Regions from separate parts of the Homo sapiens genome. Here all the other regions are linked to region 2. Evidence: promoter capture Hi-C in 16 types of primary human blood cells and fetal thymus (Javierre and others, 2016). All regions are on one chromosome and are shown on one strand. Each heading gives the region's core, a stretch centred on a gene start or on the middle of the fragment in contact. The rest is flanking DNA. Distances are from core to core; before and after follow the strand shown. Region 1 overlaps TNS1 (tensin 1). Region 2 holds the start of TNS1 (tensin 1). Region 3 overlaps TNS1 (tensin 1).

What was found. The method cuts DNA at HindIII sites, captures the fragments that hold promoters and counts their contacts. A CHiCAGO score of 5 or more calls a contact.
Region 1: a fragment that was not itself captured here is called in contact with the fragment with the promoter of TNS1 in region 2 in 1 of 17 cell types (M2 macrophages); the score reaches 6.3 in M2 macrophages.
Region 3: a fragment that was not itself captured here is called in contact with the fragment with the promoter of TNS1 in region 2 in 2 of 17 cell types (megakaryocytes and M2 macrophages); the score reaches 6.2 in megakaryocytes.

The regions. Positions count from the first base shown.
Region 1 is chr2:217,877,945-217,881,616 of GRCh38, reverse strand. It overlaps TNS1 (tensin 1), which reads left to right. Exons shown (of 33, transcript NM_001387777.1): 18 at 603-719. Among named protein-coding and RNA genes, the nearest start is that of MIR6809, 21 kb to the left of the region's middle. The HindIII fragment of the contact is 295 bases long and covers 1,231-1,525 here.
Region 2 is chr2:218,000,885-218,004,894 of GRCh38, reverse strand. It overlaps TNS1 (tensin 1), which reads left to right and starts at 1,900. Exons shown (of 33, transcript NM_001387777.1): 1 at 1,900-2,055. The coding sequence starts at 2,023. RefSeq lists enhancers at 615-714, 2,455-2,955, 2,956-3,456. The HindIII fragment of the contact is 26,666 bases long and covers 1-4,010 here.
Region 3 is chr2:217,895,203-217,899,079 of GRCh38, reverse strand. It overlaps TNS1 (tensin 1), which reads left to right. Exons shown (of 33, transcript NM_001387777.1): 8 at 1,111-1,282. Among named protein-coding and RNA genes, the nearest start is that of MIR6809, 3.5 kb to the left of the region's middle. The HindIII fragment of the contact is 4,504 bases long and covers 1-3,877 here.

The sequences.
Region 1 (3,672 bases), core at 129-2,628, 120 kb after region 2:
TGCATTAGGTATTTGTCCCAATGCTGAGCTGGGTTTTCTGTGGATGGCTGGGAGATTCTGCCGTGCCCCCTAGGTTTCTGTCTGGAGCGGAGAGCGTTTTAAGAGGGGGCAGGGCCATGCCTGGGATGACCCTTTGGAGGCTTTATGTCCTTTCAATGTCGGGGCTGTGATTTCCCTGCTGTCCCTGATCCCACGTAGCTCATAAGCAGCCTGCCCCCCACCCCCAGGGTCTGACCCCAGGGGCAGACTTTCTAGTCTCTTGGCACTGCCTCAGGAGCCCCAGGGACACAGAAGAAAAAGAGGCAGGTACCCAGCCAGGGGTCCTCCCCGCTTTCTTCCAGGGGGTCTTCATTCTTCAGTGCCTGTCCTGATTTACCCCTATGACCCGGCATGAGCCTTTTCAAGAATGTGAGAAACTAGACTCCCAGTTCTCAGTCCAGCTTAAGCCACTGGTCCCGCCCACCACGCTCAAGAAAATGAGAAGTCCCTCAGGGAGCCTCTTTTGGGGAGCTTGTGGGCTTTCTCTGTTTTTCCAGCTGCTGATCTCTTTTCCCTCTCTGCACTGTCTCCCCGACTGCCGCTGCCTTTCCCATCCCACTTAGGCATGGAGCACCTGGAGAACGGGCCGAGCGTGTCTGTGGACTATAACACCTCCGACCCCCTCATCCGCTGGGACTCCTACGACAACTTCAGTGGGCATCGAGATGACGGCATGGAGGGTAGGTGGGACCTAGTGGCTCCCAGCCCCTATCCAAACTGCACAGCCTCTGCTCACATGACCTTGCTTCTCTTGGCCTGCTTTCAAGAGATCTGGGTTCGAGAGGAGGCAGAGGGGAAGTGTGAGGTACCTCCGAGAGCTCACCGTTAACTGGGGGAAGATAAGGCACATATATGAATGTATTAAATAAAAGTGAGGACAGAGCCAAAGAAGGCAGCAAAATGGCCACAAGGGGGTTATCGTGGAAGTGTGTTGCTACAGCCAAGTAAGTTCCGTGGACAGTGAGTTCTCTGGGATTGGCAGGGAGGGATTTTGAGAGCTGGAGTGATCTGGGAAGGCTCCTTGGAGGATGTGGCCTTGAGTGGAGCTTGAGATACCCCCCACTGTGCTGCAAAAACAGCATTTGTCACATGTGTATTAAACCCACTGTTGGGTTTCTTCAGGCTTGCTGCCTGAGTTCTCTGGGGTCAGAGTACTAGGAACAGAGGCACAGGATCTAGGGCCTACAAGCTTTCATCAACAGCCAACAAAAATGTTTGAGAGCTGGGAACAAACTGATAGGCTCTGAAATTTGAAAAGAAAGCAGCAGAATTGAAATTAATACATGTTTAATTTAGCTACAAACCTAACATTATGTCAAATGGTCCACTGCAACTCAGGTCGTCTCTTGAGAGTTCTACATGCATTCTATTTATTTATGTGGTCTATCTGCATATGTGTAAGGAGACGTGGGGCGGGCTCCGAAAGTGAGCATGCCCAGAGCCCAGGAACTCTTGAGATGCCCTGCCTGGGGTTTGGCCACAAGCTTCTTTTCTTGAGTTGGTCGTAGGACTGCAGAATGTTGGAGCTGGGAGGACCTTCAGGATGGTCCAGCCCATCACCCATCTGTGTTCAGTTGGGGTGACTGAGACCCTTCCCAGAGGCAGAACCTCCTGATTTACCCCCGTGACCCAGGATGGCCCTTTCAAGGATGCCAGCACCCAGCGTCTGGCTTCTCCTCCCAGCTGAAGCCAGTCCTGGGTGGGGCTGTGCCATCCTGGGGCCCCTGGGTCCCATGGCAGAGCTAGGTTAGAGATAGGTAGGCCTGGGGGCCTCCCTGTGCCCTCTTTCCTCTACACGGCGCTGTCTTCTGTCTCCCTCCCCAAGGTTTTGGATTTGATGACTCCTCTCTGAAAATCTTTGGGCCTTTCCTTGAATAAAGATTTCTCCTCTGACCTTGGGGTCACCAGAATGAGCACAAGGTTTCAGAGAGAAGTGGGATGAGGGAGGGTGGTTGGACTAGAATTTGGGGACTCACTGAGAGCACATTTTTTTACGTGCAACATTGAAAAGTGGATGGCCTGTCCTCACACCTGCCTCAGTTCCCAACCCCTTTTCCTCCCCCAGGGGCCCAGCACCCTCAGATTGGCCAAGACACCCCACCAGGCCCCTCCGACCCCCCAGGCTGCTTGTGAAAAGCACTCCTCCATCCCCGGGCGCTGAGCGGCCAAGCAGAAAGCAGAGGCTGGAGCGAATTTGTTCTGAGGTTTCAGTGGCTGCCAGCCTAATTGGTCGTTGTGCTGGGGATGTTTGCATTTTTAACAAGAACATTTGGCAATTGGAAAGAATTTTTACTGTCTCTCCATCTCTTCTTGGTGCATGGTCAATGCGATGATAAATGTAAAAACATTTAGTAAACTATAAAGTGCCAGGCAAATAAAAGGTAAAATAATTAACGGTGAGGAGGAGATGTGGGAAAGACGGGGCTTAGGATGTATTTGGCTGTGGGGGAAGGAAGAAGAGCAGACGGTCAGAGTGGGAGGCAGCCCAGGGACAGCAGAGCCGAGAGCGGCTCCCCCTCTCGGCAGAGGGCCAGCTTCTCAGCCTCCAGACAGGGCCCCTCTGTCCTTGCAGGATGAGCTGACCTTTAACTGACCAAAAGGTCCTGCTGGTTCCATCCCTCTGTCTGAGGGAATGGATTAGAAGGGAAAAAAGGAAGGGCGAGGGGGCAGAAGAAGCGGCCAGGGCCTTCCCTCACCAACCCTCTGTCCCCTCTACCTGCCTATAGCGGCCTTCATGAGAGGCAGTTAGTATGTGGTTAAGAATGCAGCCTCTGCAGCCAAACTACCTGGCTTCAAATCCTTTGACAAGGTACTGTCCTTGGGGCCTCGGTTTGACCTGCTGTAAAATGGGAATTCAGTCAACAAATCATTTTGAGCCCCTTGTGGGCAGCACGGCCTGAGGAAGGACTGCATGTGGTGTTTTCTTGGGGGTCCGTGACACATTTGTGTCAGCTGTGGCCAGTGTGTCAGGCGCCTGCAAGACATGGCTAAGGGAGAAGGCCTGGATTTACCATGCACCAGCCATGGCACCAAGAACTTGGTAGTTGCCATTTCATTTGATGCTCCCAGCCATTCTATGACTCTTATTATGTCCAAATGGGGAAACTGGAGCACAGAGGGGTTAAGTAACCTGCCCCAGCTTGCCAAGCCAGTCAAGAGCAGATCTGGGTTTCAAGCCACCGCGTTGCCCCCTGTGCTGTCCTGGGTTGGCTGACGTCCCTAGGGGCCTGCTTTGGGCATCTGGTTTTGTGGCAGTACCTGGGTCCCACTAAGCCTAGTACCTCTCTGGCTGCTACCTCTCACCCATGGACAGAGAAAGTCAACCCATCCTGACTGTTAGGAAGAGGGAGGGTTAGGCGAGGGGGGTGTGCTGGAGCGTGGCACCCCGGAGGCCACTGGGCTTGCCCTGAGGCAGGCGTTCAGCAAGACTTCAGTGCAGGCAACAGCTGAGCCCCTGGCCCGACCCACAGAGAAGAGTGTGGGCCGCTCACTCAGGAATGCTTCTGATGAGTGGCAGGCCTCTCGAAATAGGTAGAGGGAAGGGTGTCCAAGGTGACCTGGGGCCATTTCTGAAAGTGGCCCCCTGCCTACCTCTTCTATTTCAGGCCCACTGCGGGAGGGTGATAGTAGAGG
Region 2 (4,010 bases), core at 651-3,150:
GAACACTGGTTCATTTCAGCGTTGGCTAAAATGTCAGTGAAGCCCCAGGAGGCTTAGAGTAGGGGGTCCAGAGGGACATTGTGATCCTGGCAGGGAAGGACACTAGAGGCAGGATCTTTCCCAGCCCCAGAGCTCTGGAGGACTTGGAGAAGTATGGAGAGAGGACCCTGACTCCTCTACCGGAACAAAGACTCTTCACTCAGGTACCTGCTTTAGGAAGGGCTGGAAATTGACACTTCACTTCAGTGTCCTCCCCTGACTTCTCAGAACCACCAAACAATAGATGGTTAGTCCCTTGTGCTGTGGACAACCTGTGTATCTGAATACTGCAGTCTTTTTTTCAGATGAAGAGTCAGTGTTTCCCCTTCATTCTGGGGTTTCCCAGGTAGATGTCTTGGGTGGTCCCTGGGCTGGGAGTTGGCACAAGTGGCTGGGCAGATCCCTGTGAAAGAGGAGGCTGGTAGTTGCACGGTATGTGGTGCTGACAGACAGCGGCATGGCATGGCCTTGGGTGAGTGGGGGGGGGAGGCAGGGGATCTGTAACCCTTCGTGCATGTGGCCCCAGGGCATGTATAGCACAGTGTGCATAGGAGGCCAGGCAAGAGAACTTTTCTTGCTAAGTGACTCAGTCTAGGAACGAGGTCTCCAAGTGCCTACTCTGGGAGGGCTCTTATGTGTTGACGTGAGTTGGACTGTGTCCTTGTGTGTGTGTGTGTCCACAGGAGGGTGTGGGGCTGAGCCCTCCCTCCTTCTCCTGGACAGCTCCAAAGAACAGAGCGGGTGATTCACTGGCCCCCACCCACCCTCAGTTGGTCCAGCCAAGGCCAGAGCTCAAAGAGGAAGGGTTTTTTTTGGAGGGGAACGTGGTGGTTCCAGACAATGAAGGCCTGGGGCAGACTTTGCTGGATTCCCCCTTAGTGCTCCGTGGGAATACTTTTGGGTTTTGACCCAGCCTCCTTTCCACCCTCTAGACCCCCAACAATTGTCCCTGGGCAGAGGTGGGGGCGAGGGGAGGGGAGGGCTGGTGGGCAGGGGACACTGAGGGGAAGAAATAGGCCTGTGGAATGGTGGGAGGGGAGAACTGGGCCCAGGGAGGGGGAGAGGGGAGGAGGGGGAGGAAGTGGGGAAATGCAAACCAAATGTTGGCCCCGGGTACAGTCAAGAAAAACACACTCTCGCGGGAGCCTGGAGCGGGGCTCCCTTTCAGAAGGGCAGGAAAGGCTGGGACAGATGTTTGCAGGAAAGAAAGAAAGAAGGGGGAAAAAAAAAGAAATAGGAAAAAAATTGGAATGAAACCCACAGCCTGGGGGCAGGGCCATTCTTCCCCAGTCTCGGGCCCTATTTCTTCTGTGTTAAGGCCTGTCCTGGGCTCTGAGCTTGGCGCGTGGGCACCAGAGTCTGTCCCAGTCTGTGTGTGCAAATGCATGTGTGTTCCGAGGAGGCCAGGAAGGCAGGCACGGGTACTCAGAGAAGGGGAGGGGCCAAGGCACCCTGAGTGTGCTGATTGTGTGGGCCTGGGGCTGTCTGTTCATCCATCAGTGGTCTGGAGGGTTCCAGGAGTGAAGGCCCCCAGGCTGGTTTGCCAGGGGCGGGGGTCTGCAGTGAGGAGGGAGGACTCCAGGCCTACCAGCACCAGATCAGAAGACTGAGGAGCCTTGGTGGCACACAGGGGTTGTGTGTCCGGGGGTGGGGGGCACGGCCTGGGGGGGCCCTGCCTCTGGTAGCTTTCCCTTTTCCCTGTCCCCTTTACACCCCCTGCAAAGCAGGGTTCCTGACCCTCAAGGCCACCGGTGGAGCCTGGGAGGAGGGAGGAGAGAGGAGGCTGGGACGAGGGGTGGAGTGGGGGGAGGAGGAGGAGGAGGGAGGGTGAGCTGGAGGCAGCAGGGCGAGAGGCCCAGCAGATGCTGGCGGAGCCGGAGCAGCCGCGGACTCAGAGAGCCCTTCTGCCAGCGCCGCGGGGACTCTAGCTTCAGGGGCTCTTCACAGGCCCTGGGCGTGCCTCAGTGACGGGACCCAGCAAAGATGACGTGGATCTGTCTGTCCTGCATGCTCTGGGTAGGTCTGGCTGCTTTAGCTGCGACGTTACTCTTCCTCAAACCCCCCGCCCCCCACCGGCCCCTGCCACCTTATCCTTTTGCTGAGAGCCCGGGGTCGGGGGGTGTCAGTCTTGAAGGAGGGGCCTTTCTGTCTCTGACCTACAGAAGGACAGACTGACTTGAGCAACCCTCAGCCGGAAGACTTTCCCCACCAACAGGGCCCAGGCCCAGGGTCCCGGGTCAGTACATCCCCTGCCCCACCCCCCCACCCCCCAATGGAGTCCCAGAGCTGTAAGTGGAAGGAGGCCACAGAGAAGTTTGCTTCTCTTTAGAGCCTTTCCTCCCGACTTGCATCCTACAATGGGGTGAAAATTCTTCACCGCCCCCCCTCAGTTGCTGAGCCCAAGATCTTGAGGAGGAGGCAGTGGTGGGGCTGGGGAGCAAAGAATAGTAGTCCAAAATATTAAGTCTGGAAGAGCTGGGCTGTGGGAGAATTCTCAGAGTCCATCCCTTTTATTCCTTCTACACCCAGTTTCAGCTTCCACCCACTGCCATCCCTTCCTCCACAGCCCTCCCCTGCTACCAAGACCTCTCCATCCTGGAGGAGGGAGCCATGGCCCGCTCTTCCCCCTTTCTCTCTTGGCTCCAGGTTCAGGGAGGTGGGTTTCAGGATGGGGATGCCAGGGGGGCCAGCAGAGAGGCCTGGGGGCCACGTGGTGAAGGTTAAAAGTCTTAAGGCCAGACCTGGGCTGAGGCTCCTGGGTAAAGGGGGATGGGAGAGGGCTGCCTGCTGCAGAAGGGCTGGGGGTCAGAGGAGGAGAGGACCCCTTCCTCAGAGGGGCTCCTGTGGGGCTGTCTTGGCCAGGCAAAGGCATGCATGGGGTCAGGAGGGTGAGGAAGTCGTCCCTGGCTGAGGTTACTGTTGGGCTCTGAGAGAGTGATGGCTGGTTTGGGGGAGGGGGCTTCAGGGCTGTGATCCAGATGTGGCCTTTCCTGTCCCTTTCCTTGTTCTGGCCAGTCCTCGGGAGGGCCCTCTTGGCCCAGGCAAGCCCATGCTGGGGGCAGTTGTGGGAACACAAACTCGGGCAGCCAGGTGTCCTCTGGGCAAAGAAAGAAAGGGTGGGGGAGGGGGCCTGGAATGAGGCGGTTTGGGTGGCATGTTGGGCTGGGGTGCTGGGATGGATTGGATTAATAGATTGAGAGTGACTGGGGAGGCCTGCACACAGGATGCATTTGTGGTTTACTGGGCTGGTGTTGACATCTGGGAAATGGGAGCCTTGGCCAGGTTCGTCTCTGTGCTGAGGACAGAGGTAGGCAGGAGGGAGCTCTGCAGCAAGAAGGATGGCAGGTAGACGTCCAGGGGTGACACAAGAAGGATGGCAGGTAGACCTCCAGGGGTGACGAGCTGCTGTGACTGGAGAGAGGGCTCTATAGATCCCTTCAGCTGACTGATACTGGGAAAAGTGCCTCATCCTGGTGAGCCTCTGCTTTCCCGTTGGTGAAATGAGGATTGCAGAGAAACAGGGTACAGAGAGGTAGGGATGAAATTTTGTATCCAATTCCCCAGGGCAGTGCCTGGCAGGTAGAGTGCCCTATGGGTGTTATACCCTCCCTGAGAGTAAGGGGAAGAGTCTGGGGACCAAGGCAGCTGTGAGTGCTGCTTCCTTGAGTGTCTTTATTTTTATTTATTCATTTTTTTTTTAATTGAGATGGAGTCTCACTCTGTCACCCAGGCTGGAGTGCAATGGCATGATCTTGGCTCACTATAACCTCTACCTCCTGGGTCCAAGCAATTCTCCTGCCTCAGCCTCCCGAGTAGCTGGGACTACAAGTGCGTGCCAACATGTCCAGCTAATTTTTTATATTTTTAGTAGAGATGGGGTTTCATCGTGTTGGCCAGGCTGGCCTCGAACTCCTGACCTCAAGTGATCCTCCCGTCTCAGCCTCCCAAAGTGCTGGGATTATAGGTGTGAG
Region 3 (3,877 bases), core at 758-3,257, 110 kb after region 2:
TCATCACTTTTAAATACCCCAGTGGTATTCCTTTCGCTGCCCTCCACTCTCCACTTTATCCCGCTGTGGTGAAAGGTTAGCAGAATGAAATGTCAGTGCTGCCTGCATTTGATAGAGGGGGAAGCGAGACACTAGGAGGTCAATGATTGGGGAAAAAGCTGGAGGGATGGGGGAGGTGCTTCTAGAAGCAAGAGGTGGGCTTCCCAAGTGGGCATCCTGGACCCTTCCTCTGGAAGAAAAGTTGGGAGAGATGTAAAGATGCGAGCCCCTCCCTTCCTCACCCAGTGCCCAGTGGAGAGGATGGCCAGCCCAGGGGCCTCCCCACCTCTCCGGGAAACGCATGGTGCTGGCGGCTGCCCGCCACTGCAGCAACAAGGGCTCTGTGCCCTCTTGTTTTCTGGGCCCTTAGAAATCAGGGAGGCTGCTGCCAAGAAGCAGCTCTGGCAGGCAGTGGGAGCTGCCAGAGGTGGGGAGAAGGCCAAGGAACAAAGGGCAGGAGTTGGCCTGCCTCCGGGAGGGCTGGAATGTGTGCTGTGGTCTGGCTTACCTGGAACCCAGGTGAACGTGTCACCTGAGATGCCCCCTCCCCTGAGAGGTTTCCCGCCCACTCCACAGCTCGAGAGCTAGGGGCGGGCAGTGGGAAGTCTCCGTTCCAGGGCTGGAGAGCGCCCAGCGCAGGCTCTCCTTCCTCTTCCAGAGCAGTCTGGGGCCTTTCGGGAGACTTCTGCCTGGCCAGGCAGCCAGTGTTGGGAGCCAGAGCTCCTGGGTTCCTGGGCCAGTCTGGCCCTGGCTCTGAGCTCTGGAGTCACAGGTTGAAGGCAGTGGCCAAAGGACTGATGGGAACCAAGAATTGGTGTCATCACAGTTTGGTTCTGAAATGGCCTGAGGTCCTTGCCAGCCCTACCCAGCTTGTTCTCGCCGGCACTCCCAAGCCGGCCACATTGGCCTTGCCAGAGGAAGCCTGTGGCCTTGGCCTTGGGTTGAAGAGCAGCCAAGCACCCTGGGCTGCATATGGGGGTCACACAGGGTGTGTATGGGGTGCAGCTATCTGGGGCCTTCCCTGTGGGCTGGATTCTGATATGGACCCTCCGCTGCCTGCTGTCTCCCTAGAAACATGAGTGTGAGCCGGACCATGGAGGACAGCTGTGAGCTGGACCTGGTGTACGTCACAGAGAGGATCATCGCTGTCTCCTTCCCCAGCACAGCCAATGAGGAGAACTTCCGGAGCAACCTCCGTGAGGTGGCGCAGATGCTCAAGTCCAAACATGGAGGCAACTACCTGGTGAGGATGGATCCTCGTGCCCACTGTCCTGTGCCCTCTATGCTTCCATCTGCTCACCACCTCTACATGACTGGTATCCCTGCCACCAGCCCCTGTGCCAGCATGCCCTCTTCTCTTTGTTTATCTGCCTTTCCCCTCAGGCAGCTCTCGTGCCTGAGTCTTCAATCACTCTCCAGCCCAGCTCTCCTCTAAGGAGTGTGCTGCAGCTGGAATGTAGCATCTGGAACTCTGTGTGTGCATGTGTGTGCTGGCCAGGAGAAGAGAGTACCAATAAGAGTTCAGGTTATTGAGCGCTTGCTACTAGCCAGGCCCTGTTCCAACTGCTTTCCACGCACTTAACCTTTGCAGCAGCCCTAGCAAGCAGGCACTTGCCAGAGCACAGAGAGGTGGGGTTATTTGCCTAAGGTTGCAGGGTCAGGAAGTGGCAGAGCTGGCACAGGGTCGGTGCCTCTGAGAAGTCTGAGGGCAGAGTCTTGGCAACATGTGTCTTAAGGGACCCTGGGTTGCTGGCACCTGGCTCGGCCTGGCCCAGAGGAGTCACCTTGGCACACGGGAGAGAGGTGCTGGCGGTGGTCTCCACTAACGCAGAAAGGCTGATCCGTCCTTGGCCCCAGAGGAGGGCTCAGGTCCATTTTAGAGGGAGGTGCCTGTGGACTGGACCCACAGATCTGATCTGTACAACCTCAGGTGGCTGTCCCCAGGGTGTTTGAGGTGGGATGTAGGAGGCTGCATTAGTTTCCCAGGGCCACTGTAGCAAATGAGGTGGCCCTTTCTATCCATGGGTTTCACCTCTTTGGACTCAATCCATCATGAGTTGAAAATATTCAGAAAAAACCCAACAGTAAATAACAATAAAAAACAATACAAATAAAAACAATACAGCAGAACAACTATTTGCAGAGCGTTTATATTGTATTAGGTATTACAAGTAACCTAGAGATGATTTAAAGTCTACGGAAGTATATGCATAAGTTATATGCAAATAGTACATTTTTTATATGCAAGTTATATGTAAATAGTACATATTTTATGTAAGAGACCTGAGCACCCATGGATTTTGGTATCCACTATCCATGGCGGGGTGGAGGGGTCCTAGATCCAAATCCTCCATAGACACCAAGTGATGACTCTACCTCAAATCTGGTGGCTCAAAATAACAGAAATTTATTCTCTCACAGTTCTGAAGGCTGGAAATCTGAAATCAAGGTGTTGACGGGGCCATGCTCCCTCTGAATCCTATGGCAGAGAATCCCTTCTTGCCTTTTCCTAGCTTGCGGTGGGATTCCTTGGTTTGTAGCGCATCACTCCAATCTCTACCTCCATCTCCACGTGGCCTTCTTCAGTGTCTCTCTGTGTGTCTTCTCTTCCTACAAGGACATCAATTATTGGACTTAGGGTCCACCCTAGATCCAGGTTGATGTCATATTGAGATCCTTAACTACTTACACTGGCAAAGGCACTATTTCCAAATAAGGTTGTATTCTGAAGTTCTGGGTGGACATGACGTTTTGAGGATACTATTCAACCACTATAGAGACCCACCTGTTAGCTGCATTGGGGCATTGTTAAGAGCTTGGCTTTAAACCTCAGAAAGTCCTGGGTTCAAATTCTGGCTCTGCCTTTACTAACTACATGATCTTAGCTGTTTAGCCTCACTAAGCCCTAGCTTCTGTGTCCGTAAAGTGGGTCTGAGGTCTACCTCTTATTGTTGTTGAGAGAATTAAGCCAGCTGTTAGATGTAAAGTCCTTAAGACAGGCTGACAGGTGGCAGACATTCATTGAGTGATGGCTATTGTACCATAATAAAGTGTATTCCTTTACAGAGTGCAAGAGTGGATGCAAATCCACCTATTTCTGATTTTAGGAGTCCAGGGTTCTATGGGACTTGGTGCCCTGCCACCCCTCTCTCTATCCTGCCTATTCCAGACTGGGCTGTCCCCTTTTCTCCCCAGGAGATGACACAGTGCCTTTGAGTTTCCTAGGCAGTGGGGTGGAGGTGGGAAGTTCTGCATGCCCCCCTCGGAGGTAGAGGCAGGAATTCCAGAGACTGGAGAATTCCTTAGGATTCCAGTGGTCAGGAATGGGACCCCAGTGGTCAGGCGTTGAAAGGCATGTGCTGGGAGAGGTATGTCAAGGGTCTGATTGGGCCCACCCAGGATGGTTTGCCCCTCTGATGGAGGAAGTCTGGTGACAGAGAGGTTGCAACCTCATGGGATGAGGTTCTAGGGTCAAGGTATGAAGTGGAAACCAGAGATTGCCAACTACTTATCATCTCACACAGCTGGATTCCCGTTCGGTGTGGTGAGAGGCAAGCGGAACTGGAGACAAGTTCCATCCCCTTCTCGTCTTCCATTCGGGACATCCGCTCACGGAACAGGGTGGCTGAGTGTCTACATCTCTCTCTCTCTCCCTTTTCATCCTGAGGACCTACAGTTGAGTTCCTCTTCGTGACGGTGTGTCTGCTGGGACTCACCTGCATGTTCACGTATGGATAGAATTCCTATCGGGGAGAGAGAGCGAGAGCAGGCACAGGAGGTCCAGGGAGCTCATGGCTGTTCCGTGGCCAGGCCCCTGGCCGTGAGAGGACATTGACGC